Regions from separate parts of the Homo sapiens genome. Here all the other regions are linked to region 2. The links are contacts of gene promoters, found by promoter capture Hi-C in blood cells and fetal thymus (Javierre and others, 2016). All regions are on one chromosome and are shown on one strand. Each heading gives the region's core, a stretch centred on a gene start or on the middle of the fragment in contact. The rest is flanking DNA. Distances are from core to core; before and after follow the strand shown.

What was found. The method cuts DNA at HindIII sites, captures the fragments that hold promoters and counts their contacts. A CHiCAGO score of 5 or more calls a contact.
Region 1: a contact is called between a fragment that was not itself captured here and the fragment with the promoter of SDR9C7 in region 2, in 2 of 17 cell types (M2 macrophages and erythroblasts). The highest score is 5.6, in M2 macrophages.
Region 3: a contact is called between a fragment that was not itself captured here and the fragment with the promoter of SDR9C7 in region 2, in 3 of 17 cell types (erythroblasts, endothelial precursors and M1 macrophages). The highest score is 7.1, in erythroblasts.

The regions. Positions count from the first base shown.
Region 1 is chr12:56,865,002-56,869,420 of GRCh38, reverse strand. No RefSeq gene overlaps it. Among named protein-coding and RNA genes, the nearest start is that of SDR9C7, 67 kb to the left of the region's middle. The HindIII fragment of the contact is 2,669 bases long and covers 111-2,779 here.
Region 2 is chr12:56,933,036-56,937,584 of GRCh38, reverse strand. SDR9C7 (short chain dehydrogenase/reductase family 9C member 7) reads left to right here and starts at 3,177. Exons shown (of 4, transcript NM_148897.3): 1 at 3,177-3,624. The coding sequence starts at 3,324. The HindIII fragment of the contact is 2,217 bases long and covers 2,578-4,549 here.
Region 3 is chr12:56,822,806-56,826,887 of GRCh38, reverse strand. No RefSeq gene overlaps it. Among named protein-coding and RNA genes, the nearest start is that of HSD17B6, 62 kb to the right of the region's middle. The HindIII fragment of the contact is 1,687 bases long and covers 1,463-3,149 here.

The DNA of each region.
Region 1 (4,419 bases), core at 196-2,695, 66 kb after region 2:
CTTGTCTGTGTGTTTTCTTGTAAAATCCTGTGAGAAATTCCTGCAATTGTATGTTACATTGATATCCATTTTAATCCTCTTCTAACACACCCAGACTTCTTGAAAAAGCTTAAATTCTTTCTGTGCTTGAGGTATAAATTTCCTACCTTGTTTTCTTTAAAGCTCGGTAAAGGCTTCAGCCATGTGGAACAGATAAATTTCAACCTGTTCCATTTACAGAAATGCAGTTGGAATCAAATTGTTTTTTTAAACTAATCAGTTTTACTTAACTCATAGCTAAGTTTTAAAACAAAAGCTATAAGATCTTTATTTGTGTCTGTATTTTTGTGTATATATATGTTTACATATCTATTCATATATTGTCTATAATTCCAAATTGTTTTATAAATAAATGAGTACTCACCAGGTGCAATGGCTTATGCCTGTAATCCAAGCTCCTCAGGAGGCTGGGGTGGGAGGATCACTCGGCTCACCTCAACCTCTGCCTCCTGGGTTCAAGCTATTCTCGTGTCTCAGCCTCCCAAGTAGCTGGGACTACAGGCACACACCACCACACCTGGCTAATTCTTGTATTTTTAGGACAGATGGGGTTTTGCTGTGTTGGCCAGGACTTTGAGGCTGCAGTCAGCTATGATTGGGCCACTGCACTCCAGCCTGGGTGACAGTGAGAGCCCATCTCTTAAGAAAAAAAAAAGAATACTCATAGATTAAGCAAATAATCTGAAATGCTTTTCAAGTTAATGTGATTTAGTCATCTTTTGGCAGATGGGACTAGACTAATATTGTTAAATAATTGTTAAATAATTTTAAAAAAATTGTTGTTTTGATGGAAATTGCTGCATCTTCTGAGTTATCAGCAAAATGTGCTTGTATTTAACTTTAGAGTTCTTGCTTTTATAATATTTGCCTGGAAGGCAGTAATGTACAATTGGTTGACAGAAACAGCTTGGGATAATGGCTAGATTTGTTTGATGTCTCTGGAAATTTTCTAGGCATAATTCTTTGAGAGTGAATGGATTTGGTGAATGTGGACAGGATAAATTTTGTAAATTAACTTTTGATAATGGTTTATGTTTTGTAATATGTTTACTTGGGAAGGTTTTTTAAATCTCTTTGGTAAGTATACCCTAAGAGTTTAGTTAAGCTAAATTAAATGATGGATGTTCATTGAATGTCTAGGTCATTTACAGATAAAATATAATGCTGAGATATTTGTTGTTGAATGTAAGTATAGGCTCATATACTGCTGGCTTCTTATTTCCAAGAAAAACAAAAGTTATTTGAATCTGTTAGTAGAAATGTCCTGTTTCATATTAAAGAGTTGTTTTGTTAGAAAGCCTATGTCTCTGGAAATTGTAAAATGTGTATCATGGATTTTTGGTATGTGATTGGTGGTTAAGAGTTGATAACTTCTAGCTGGGTGTGGTGGCTCATGTCTGTAATCCCAGCACTTTGGGAGGCCAAAGCAGGTGGATCACCTGAGGTCAGGAGTTTGAGACTACCCTGGCCAACACAGCAAAACCCCATCTGTCCTAAAAATATAAGAATTAGCCAGGTGTGGTGGTGTGTGCCTGTAGTCCCAGCTACTTGGGAGGCTGAGACATGAGAATAGCTTGAACCCAGGAGGCAGAGGTTGAGGTGAGCTGAAATTGTGCCACTGCACTCCAGCCTGGGTGATAGAGTGAGACTCTGTCTCAAAAGAAAAATTGATAACTTCCTGGGTTTTCTTTGAAAATTAGGGTTTCTAAGAGTTGACATTATAACTAATGTGTGTGATTAAACTACTAGAGATGAAAAAGACCATTCCATATGTAAGCATATGAGAAGTATATGATGTATTTTTGGTAAGGAAGGTTGAAAAGGAAGAGGATTATTTTGTATAAGAAAGAATGTTGTATGGCAAATTTTTCTCCTAGAGTAAAATGATTGGTTATTTAAGAAAGAGAAAGTGTAAGAAAAAGCAGAATGTCCAAGCATATCATAAATGGTCTGAGTAAGTCATGATAAGGTTTATAAAAATAGCATTTATAGAGGAAATTTTCTGTGTCATCACTTTGTCTACAATTGGAGGGAAATTATTTATGGGTCTTACTAGGGATTGAACTTTGATGTGAAAAACACACTGATGCAGATTTTGTCCCGTGTGTTAGAATAGCAAGGTTTCTTTAGAATGTTGATTTGCTCTTAGTAAAATTATAGGAGGTTTTGATTAATTCTGAAATGTGTTTCTTTGACAGCCATCCTCTCAATTACAAACAGTTTCTATTTCTGCCACATTTCTCCCTGGAATCTATCTAACTTCTTTCTCTAGTTTCAGGTTGGAAATACAGCTCTACTTCTTTCTATCCTAAAAAGATATGGTTTTTGCTTGGTTGGGATGATAACATTCTCCTTCAACCTTTTTGTTGACTCCTGTAACATTTTTCTGGTTCTGCCAGTTCACTTTTCATCAGGTTTAACTTTCAGGTTATCTAAATGAACTTACCAAAAGAAAAAGCAATCACATTGCAAGAGATTTTCTTTTCTTTGCCTTGTGGGCAATTGGCCTAGGAAACAAAGATTCTGTTTTACCAAGATAATTTCCTGTGCTTCAAGTTATCTTTATTAGGTTTTTTATTACTTAGGAAAACTGAGCTTTAAAAGGGTTAAGGTTTTTACATTCATGTAACTTTTTCTATTGTTTTTGACATCTTTTGATTGTCAGTCTGGTTAAATGAATAACTATCATCTTGCAGCGAACTTTGATTCTATTGAATCAGATACTTTGAACTTTAAAGCTTGTGACATCTTTGGAAGGTTTCCTGGGATCAAAGCCCTAAATTAAATCTTTTAGATATTATTAGGAAGCATTGTCAAATAAAAATTATTTTTAACTTTCTTTAAGTTGCATGTGTAAATGTGTTATTAAAATGTGTTTCAAAATTTCATGTGATAAAATTCTGAGATATAGTGATATGTGTTGTCAATCAGCTATAGTCCAAAATTGCTTTTCATGGAACTGCTGATCAGTGTCAAGCAAGGTAAAATTGATTACATGAAATTAAGTAATTGATAAGGATAATGTTTTATGACTTTTATTTAGAGCATTCTTGGTCTTACATGTTTTGTTTTTCAGATTCAAGGAAATTTACTTCATAATTTTTTATAGTTTGTAATAATTTGGTAAAATATCCTTTCGTTAACAAAAGTGGAAGCATTTGCTTTTTCTCCCTACTTGAGATCTCCAAAATTTAGAAACTATTTTTGAGTATTCTTATTTTATTTACATGCTCTCTATAAGCAGGATACAAGTGGAATTCTCAGTTATAATATCAAGGTTTTGACTGAAATGTCATATTTAAGAATGTACATAAAATGCCTGGCTTCAAGAGTTCCCAGGCTTACCGTAAGTGAGTCAAAATTGCTACTTCCAGGCATGCCCAAGGACACTAAGATTGTAAGTGAAATCTAAAGTTTGCCTTCATTTGGCTTCCTAAACTCAAAAGGTTTTAAATTTAAGATTCCTATAAAATCAGTGTAAAAAGAAAAACTTATGTTTCCAAAGAAAAACTATATAACTGTTACTATATTGTAGATCTGTACATTGTTTTCAGATCCTTGTTATTTACCTGTAGACTGGACTACACCCTGAATTCTCCTAATTTCCTGATGCCTCTGCCAAACTCCAACAAGGAACACTCTTAGACAATTAACAGGTGCTTACCTGACTTTCTACCTTGCCTGGCCCAGGCTGTTCAAATTGGCTATGAGCTCTTAGTCACAGAAGTCCCACCAAGGGACTAGACAGACCCAGAGCAGGTAGCCACATCACTTCAACAATAATATGGGACAAAGACATAACACTGGTAGTCAATGCTGCCTATGGCAGGTTTCAACCAAAGGGAGTGAAATGTCAAAGTATGCCCCTGGCCAACAGACTAAATGAATTCCCCATGGCTAACTGAGGTGCTCAAAGTTACAGGAAGTATGGCTGAGAAGGCCTCAGGAAACTTACAATCATGGCAGAATGCAAAGGACAAGTAGGCACATCTTACATGCAGGAGCAGGAAGAAAAGAGTGAAGGGGGAGGTGCTATACACCTTTAAACCACCAGATCTCATGGGAACTCACTCACTATCATGAGAACAGCAAGGGGGAAATCTGCCCCCATGATCCAATCACCTCTCATTAGGCCCCCTCCTCCAACATTATGAATTACAATTCTATGTAAGATTGGGCAGGAACACAGATTCAAATTGTATCATTCTGCACTTGGCCCCTCCCAAATCTCAGGCTCTTCTCACATTACAAAATACAATCATCACTTCTCAAGAGTCCCCCAAAATCTTAACATATTTCAGCATTAACTCAAGAGTCCACAGTCCAAAGCCTCATCTGAGGCAAGGCAAGTCCCTTCCACCTGTGAGCCTGTAAAATCAA
Region 2 (4,549 bases), core at 1,928-4,427:
GGATGCCTATCCCAGCTTCTTCCTCATGCCCTCCACAGAATTCCACTGAGATATCACTCAGGACTGGCAACATAGGAGGAAAGAACCAAGGTGTTCTTCTAAAGATTGGGACCCAGTAACGCTCATAGGTGTCCTGTTGCCTTTGAGTCTCTTGGCCAATTCTGAGGAGTCTACACAATGGGAGCGTGTGAGGAGGGGAAGGATCCACAGCCCACACCTTCTCTGCCTCCTGCTTCTTCCCCAGGTGTGCATCAACCTGGCCAGTCTATTACACTCTCTCCATGATGGAAATGGCCTGGAGGAAGTGGATGGGGGCTCCTCTGAATATACCTGTGGATAAGGTGTGGGGCGACAGGGCAGCCATCAGCCTGACCCCTAGACCTCAGGTGCCAGCTCTGGGGGCATTGGCTGGCAGTGGTGTTCTCGATAGGGATTCTGACAGAGGACACAGGAACCAATGTTTGACCCTCTTAAAACCATTGGCTGGCAGTGGTGTTCTCAATAGGGATTCGGACAGAGGACACAGGAACCAATGTTTGACCCTCTTGAAACCATGACCCTCAAAAAACCATCTGGTTACTTTAGTTCTAGAGCAAAAGCTAAAAAGTGCAGCCATGTGCAGCAAGTTGCCTTCTAGTCTGAGGGGAGCATGGGCTGTGAACAAGAGGGAGGAGGAGGCAGGTGCCTTCATGGGGATCTGGGGATAAGAGGGATGAACTCAGGAGGAAATTGAAGAGAGAAGTTGGATTATCCCTGCCCTGTCTCAGCCCTTTCTGCCACCAAGGTGAGGGGCAATTGTTTCCTTTCCAGGAGTGAATCAAGTAGCCTGGGGTCACAGGAGTGCACAGAGGGACAAGGAAGCAATGACATGTCACAAAGGCACTGGCAGGCCTCTTTGTAGCACTTTGTAGCGACCTCTTTGTAGCACTCAGTGACCGGCCCTCACTTTAACATCATTGCACTTGGGAGGGGTGCTGTTTCATGGGGTGAGAAATAGAGTGGTGGGAGGGAGCTCTCAAGTTCAGGGTCATGTACCTCACTTCCCTCACCTCTGTTCTAGTTTTTTTCTGGGACGTTATTCAGGACTCTGGTGATATTAGGAGGAAAGAACCACATTTTGCTGCTTAGGAAGGGAGACCCAATCACAGATAATGGCATCCCACTTCCTTGGGCTCTGAGCTTCATGGCCCACCTGTCAACCTGAAGAATCCACACTTGTGGAAGGTCTTGAGCAACTGGGGGTGGGTGAGCCCACACCTGCTCTTCCTCCTGTCTACCTCATCAGGGTGTGTCTTGGACCTCAGCAGTCTATGCTCTCCCACTGGAGGGAAATGGCCTGGCAGAGGAGAGGGCTCCTCTCCTCTGAGATACCTGTGTGCATGGGGTGGGGATGGGGAGTGCAGCTACCAACCTGACCTATCAGACCTTAGGGGCCAGCTTGGCAAGGAATGCTGTCATCTGAGAGAGGGAGGCATTTCTAGCCCTGGGAAGAAGAGCCTTCTATGTGGTCCTACCTCCCTCACACCCCCCACCCTCATGGACTGTGTGTTTAGTTTGAGGCCAGGGGAACACTGCCAGCATAGAGGCCCAGGAGGTGCTGAGTCAGGCCCAGGCCTGTGCTGGGGCAGTTCTGAGTTATCCTTATGCTAAGTCAGACCCAACTCCTGGACCTCACCTGTGTCCTCAAGGACTGGGATACCCAATGCCCCGGACCTGCTCAGTCTTGAGTGACATGGTCTGACCTGTTTCAGCCAAGACTTCTCTGTTCATTCACCCAGGAGGCAGACAGAGACTGGGAGATTGTTCCCAGATCCCGCATAGGAGGTGCTCTGCCTCAGGTTGGTTATGAAGTAGGTGTGGTTTGCTTTCTACCATTTCCCACCTCCATCCCCTATAAGCTTTAGGTCTGCTCTTTGGGGGTGGGTTCATAATCTGGCCCCCTCCCCTACTTTGTTAAGGAACGGCCAAACCCTGCGGGGCTTTCCCAGGGTGACACCTGCTTTATGTGATTCCACGCTGGTCAGACTTGGCAAATGGTGGATCACAGAGATACATCCTTTGTCCCTTCACACTAGAGAACTTTGTGGTCCCATTTCTGTGTCAGACTCGCTAAGCCATGAAGGTGTGAGCTAGGACCAGGCTCATCCCAAGGAATGGTGACCCTAGATGTTGATCCAAAGAACCACAGAGGCTCCAGCATCATTCCCTGCATCTTATGCAATTCTGGGTGTGGCCCCTCACTACTCACACCTCTGGTTTCCTTATTTCCTTTCCTTTACCACCTTACCTCTTAGCTTTCTGTAAATTATTTGCTAAATTGCCTAGAATCTCTGTTTCTCCTCCAAGTCCCGACCCTGAGAATTTTCTATGTCTCTGGCCCCAGTTCTCTGCTCCTCCTATATCTCATCCCCTCTTACAGTCAAGGCCTCTGCCCAGACAATTCCCTCAGCTGCCCAGTGAACTCATGATCCCTCCTCATCATCTTGCCCAGGGCTGCTTACTGGTGACCTGAGTATGACCCCCACAGGGTGTCAGGCCTGAGTCCCCCAGGTCTTTCTGCTTTCTGGTGGCTAAGCTTCACATGCCAGCCTCCCCTATAGGAGGGCCCTGCTGCCTCTAGCCTCAGGACAATGGAGGTACATCCACCCTAGGAGAAATCCATTGCTTTTCATCCTCTCTCATGATGGAGACTTACCTAAGAATTCCAGAGAGCTGATGACCTGCGACTTGTTTCTCTTGGGGTTTGGAAGGTACAGAACCAATGTTGTTTGTTTTACATTAATAAATTTGTCTTGAGTATTTTCCCTGAAAATAAACTTATTTACATACCTGCACTCACGACAAATGATTTTGATCCCTGGAGACCAAAATCCCCAGGCTGGGTTGGGGGCAGGGTGGGGACAGGATTTCTAGGGGAGCTGTCTGGGGTGAGTCCTCATCTTTCATTTGCCTGCCTTACACCGCCTGGGTGAGCCACCACTCATCACCAACATTACAAGTGGATTATTTCCAATTCTTGGCAGCTTTACCCATCAGGGCAGGGGGAGAGAGGGAGGCAGCTACCAGGGCTGTCAGAGGTGACAAGGCTTCAGGTTGGACTTGAATTTCTTGCATCTGGGCTAATTGCTGTGGTGATGCATCCACCTATAAAAATTACAGCGTGGCTCACCCAGGGACCTAGATTTGTTGCAAGCTGTGGGAGGAAGGAGAGTTCTTCTTCCAGGTGGTTTCCTGCAGACTGCCTGCTAGGGCTCAGAGGACCAGCTTCTTCCCTGCTGTCTCCTGAGCCCAGTCCCTCTTGGCCATCACATTCCCCTTGCCCTATGGCGGCCCTCACAGACCTCTCATTTATGTATCGCTGGTTCAAGAACTGCAATCTGGTTGGCAACCTCTCAGAGAAGTACGTCTTCATCACAGGCTGTGACTCTGGCTTCGGGAACCTGCTGGCCAAACAGCTGGTTGATCGGGGCATGCAGGTGCTGGCTGCTTGCTTCACTGAGGAGGGATCCCAGAAACTTCAGCGGGATACCTCCTATCGGCTGCAGACCACCCTACTGGATGTCACCAAGAGCGAAAGCATCAAGGCGGCGGCCCAGTGGGTGAGGGACAAAGTGGGCGAACAAGGTGGGGCGAATTACATTCTTTGGCTTTCTTGGTTTCTCCTTCTTCCTCTTCCTCTCTCCCGAAGCATCTGACAGTATCAGAGACCCTGATGTCCAGATTGGGTGGGAGGGGTGATGTAGGGAAAGGCCCCTGCCTCAATCTGATTGGAAGCCACTGCATGGTTTGGCCTGTTCACATGAAGGGGTGATTTCCCAAGGAAGTTTTCTGTCCTGGAAACTCAGAGAAACGGGAAAGAGGTCTCAATAGGAAGCGAGGGGGGAAGATGTGTTCTGTGTGTCCAAACCTCTAAAAATGGACGTGCCTGGCTGGGCGTGGTGGCTCACGCCTATGAGCCCAGCACTTTGGAAGGCCGAAGTGGGAGGATCATGAGGTCAAGAGATCGAGACCATCCCGGCCAACATGGTGAAACCCCATCTCTACTAAAAAGTATAAAAATTACCTGGGTGTGGTGGCACGTGCCTGTAGTCCCAGCTACTCAGGAGGCTGAGGCAGGAGAATCACTTGAACCCGGGAGGCGGAGGTTGCAGTGAGCCAAGATTGCGCCACTGCACTCCAGCCTCGTGACAGAGCAAGAATCCCTCTCAAAAAGAAAAAAAAGAAAAAAAAAGGATGTGCCTCTCTGATGTTTCAGCAGTCCTAACCATCAGCTCCTGGGGAAATACAAACACATTTCTTGTTGGGATCAGGATGGGGGAGGGGGAATGAGACAGGAGGCTGGATCCCATGAGTGGGTGCAGTTTGTCTCCTTGACTATGTCAGGCAGGGGAGAAAGAGATCTGGTCTCTTCTTGACATCATGGTGGGTGTTGATTTGACTTCAGGGCAAGTATGTATGTCACAGTGGCTGCTCCTATTGGGAAAGGAAGCTGTGGACTGGGGCTGGCCCAGGACTGTGTGGGGACCTGCCTCATGCACTTCCAGCACAC
Region 3 (4,082 bases), core at 1,057-3,556, 110 kb after region 2:
AGAATAAAATACTAAGGCATAAACTTCATCAAGGCAGCAAAATACTTGTACACTAAAAACCACAAAATGTTGCAGAAAGAAATTTTAAAAGGCACAAAAATTGGGACAGGTATGGTGGTTCATGCCTGTAGTCCCAGCTGCTTGGGAAGCTGAGGCAGGAGGATCACTTGAGCCCAGGAGTTCAAGGCTGCAGTGAGCTATGATTGTGCCACTGCACCCCAGCCTGGGCAACAGAGGACACCCTGTCTCTAAAAAAAAAAAAAAAAAAGGCCACGCATGGTAGTGGCTCAGGCCAGGCATGGTGGCTCACGCCTGTAATTGCAGCACTTTAGGAGGCCAAGGCGGGTGGATCACCTGAGGTCAGGAATTCGAGACCAGCCTGGCCAATATGGTGAAACCCCATCTCTACTAAAAATACAAAAAATTAGCTGGGCGTGGTGGTGTGCACCTGTAATCCCAGCTACTTGGGAGGCTGAGGCAGGAGAATCGTTTGGACCTGGGAGGCAGAGGCTGCAATGAGCCAAGATTGCATCACTGTACTCCAGCTGGGCGAAGGAGGAAGACTCCATCTCAACAACAACAAAAAAGATGCAAATAAACAGAAAGCACTCCATATTCATGAATTGGAAGACTTAAGATTGTAAAGATATTAATACCACCAAAAGTGATCTACGGAGTCAATGCAATCCCTATCAAAATCCCAACAATATTTTTACATAAATTTTAAAAATCCATTCTAAAATTCATTTGGAATATCAAATGACCCCAAATAACCAAAACAATGTTGAAAAGAACAACAAAGATGGCAATCTCTCACTTCCTGATTTCAAAACTTACTACAAAGCTATGATAATCAAACCAGTGTGTTACTGACATAAAGACAGATACCTAGACCAACGGAATAGAATAGATAACACAGAAATAAACCCTTGCATATATGGTCAAATGATTTTTAACGAGGGTGCCAAGACCATTCAATGGGGAAAGGACAATCTTTTCAACAAATGGTAACGGGAAAACTGAATATTCACCTGCAAAAGAATGAAGTTAGACCTGTACCTTACACTATATGCAAAAATTAACTCAAAATAGATCAAAGACCTAAATTTAAGAACTAAAACTATAAAACTCCTAGAAGAAAATACAGGGAGATGGCCGAGTGTGGTGGCTCACACATGTAGTCCCAACACTTTGGGAGGCCACAGCAGGTGGATCACTTGAGCCCAGGAATTGGAGACCTGCCTGGGCAACATGGCAAGACCCCATCTCTACAAAAAATACAAAAATTAGCCAGGCATGGTGGCATGCACCTGTAGTTCCAGCTACTAGGGAGGCTGAGGAGGGAGGATTGTTTGAGCCCAGGAGGCAGAGGTTGCAGTGAGCTCTGATCATGCCACTGCACTCCAACCTGGGCAACAGAGCAAGACCCTGTCTCAAAAAACAAAAAAACAGGGAGAAAGCTTCATGACGTTGGATTTGGCAGTGATTTCTTGGATATGACACTGAAAGCACAGGCAACAAGAGGAAAAAAAATGGACACATTGGACTACATCAAAATTAGAAACTTCTGTCCACTCCTGAATTTTTGTTAATATATTTTGCTGCCGAAACAAAGAGTTTGCAGGTTTGGTATACCCTCTGATAGTGGGGGCATATTGACAGCTGCTATGTCCATCACAAACACATGCCTTCCTCTGCAAAAGAGTAACTGTGCAGCCAATTATCCTCAAATGACATGAACTTCTTCCTCGACATTTCTCCCTTAAATTTCCAGGGAAGATTTTGATTTATTTACTTAACAAAACAACCCTCGCAAATTTACCAGGTGGTTGAAAAATAATTATAATAGTAATAATAGGCCAAGTGCAGTGGCTCACACCTGTACTCCCAACACTTTGAGAGGCCAAGGCAGGAGGATCCCTAGAGCCCTGAAGTTTGAGACCAGCCTGGGCAACAGAGGGAGACACCATCTCTATAAAAAAAATTTTAAATTAGTCAGATGTGGTAGTACACCTGTAGTCCCATCTGCTCAGGAGGCTGAGGTGAGCAGATCACTTAAGCCCAGGAGTTTGAGGCTGCAGTGAGCTGTGATCGCCACTGCTGCACTGAAGCCTGGATGACTCTGCCTCTAAAAAAAAAAAAATTAATAGTAATAAGAAAATAATATTATAATGGACACTATCACAAAAGGCAAATACCTTAAACTATTCCTGCAGTGTTGTTTTGTCCAGGCCGAAACCAAAACTGGAGCCCCAAAGTCTGTAGCAGGGAAATTCCCAAGAAGGATTATCTGTAAACCATTTGGAGATGGGGCTGGTTGAGATTCCAAAGAGAGAAGCACTAAACACCAGGGTAATTAGTCTAAAGTATTTATCAGGGGAACTTACTTACAAAAGGGGCTGCAGGAATCCTCTCAACAGCAAGCGAAAGAGATGTTCCACCTAGCTATGTCTGCAATAAGGGGGTTGTGTTATGGAGTTTATATGAGGGTTTGAGGAGTTTGGTTAAGGGCTGGGGCTAGTTTCTTTCAGTGTTCTGGACAACAACCTAAACATGTTTACCAGAGCCTGGGAATGTTCAAGGACCTGACTTAACCCTGCAAAAAAACATGCAACTGGCCAGGTCACAGAGTGGTCAAGGCACTCTGTATTTCTTAGTCGGGATAGATAAAAAGGTTGGGAAAACTAGAGGACCCTATGAATGTATTAGCCAAATAGTATTTGATCAAAAGCATAAATGAAAATTGATGATCCCAAGCATTCATGTGGGAAATCAACTTTTTTTCCTAGAGCTTATCCAATAGTCTAGACAAAATTCTATTTCTGTAAAAAGTAATCAACTTATAAGATGTAGCTAAAAGAGTAATGATCAATATTGTTTCAGATTGCCTAGCACATTTTCTCATGTTCCAAATACAGATCTCTGTGTCCTCCCAGTTCACTCTCATCCAACCCAGCCCCCCCCCATGTCATTTAAACAAGGAAAAGATATGACTTTGCTTTTATTATCTAGGTTAGACAAAATGTTCCCTGAGTTTCCATCAAGTTTTAATTTTGCCAAAGAAATATAATCACAGTTTTCTTAAAAGCCTGTCCCAAGTAGTCATGCCTCTATCTCTGAATTTATTGGCTATCCGGTTATCTTAAGCTTTAACCAGCACAAGTTTCTTTGACGAATTCTTACTTGCATTTAGAAAGGTCATGTTCTTCAGTTTCTGGAGATTGCCTTGAGCTGAGAACAGGCTCCATCAAAGGTCATGGATGGCAGAATGGGCTGGCCATGAAAGACCTCTGAACTCCAGTGGAAAAGCAGATGGAACTTGGAAAGTAAACTAAGGCTACCTCAAAACAACGGCCTTTGTCTTAGGGCAGGCAAGTCAATAGATTATATGAAAATTGTTCTGGGCCGGGCACGGTGGCTCAGGCCTGTAATCCCAGCACTTTGGGAGGCTGAGGCAGGTGGATCACCTGAGATCAGGAGTTCGAGACCAGCCTGGCCAACATGGTGAAACCCCATCTCTACTAATAATACAAAAACTAGCTGGGCGTGGTGGCACACGCCTGTAATCCCAGATACTCGGGAGGCTGAGGCAAGAGGATTGCTTGAACCTGGGAGGTGGAGGTTGCAGTGAGCCGAGATAGCGCCATTGCACTCCAGCCTGGGTGACAGAACAAGACTCCGTCAAAAAAAAAAAAAAAGAAAGAAAAGAAAGAAAAAGGAAGGAAGGAAAAAGAAAGAAAAGAAAAGAAAAGTGAAGGGGTGACTTTCCCCTCCACAACTGTGGGTATTTCTAGTTGGGTGGGACGAGAGACTGAGAAAAGAAATAAGACACAGAGACAAAGTATAGAGAAACAACAGTGGGCCCAGGGGAACGGCGCTCAGCATACCAAGGACCTGCACCGGCACCGGTCTCTGAGTTCCCTCAGCTTTTATTGATTATTATTTTCATTATTTCAGCAAAAAGGAATGTAGTAGGAGAGCAGGGTGATAATAAGGAGAAGGTCAGCAAAAAACATGTGAGCAAAAGAATCTATGTCATAATTAAGTTCAAGGGAAGGTACTATGCCTGGATGTGCACGTAG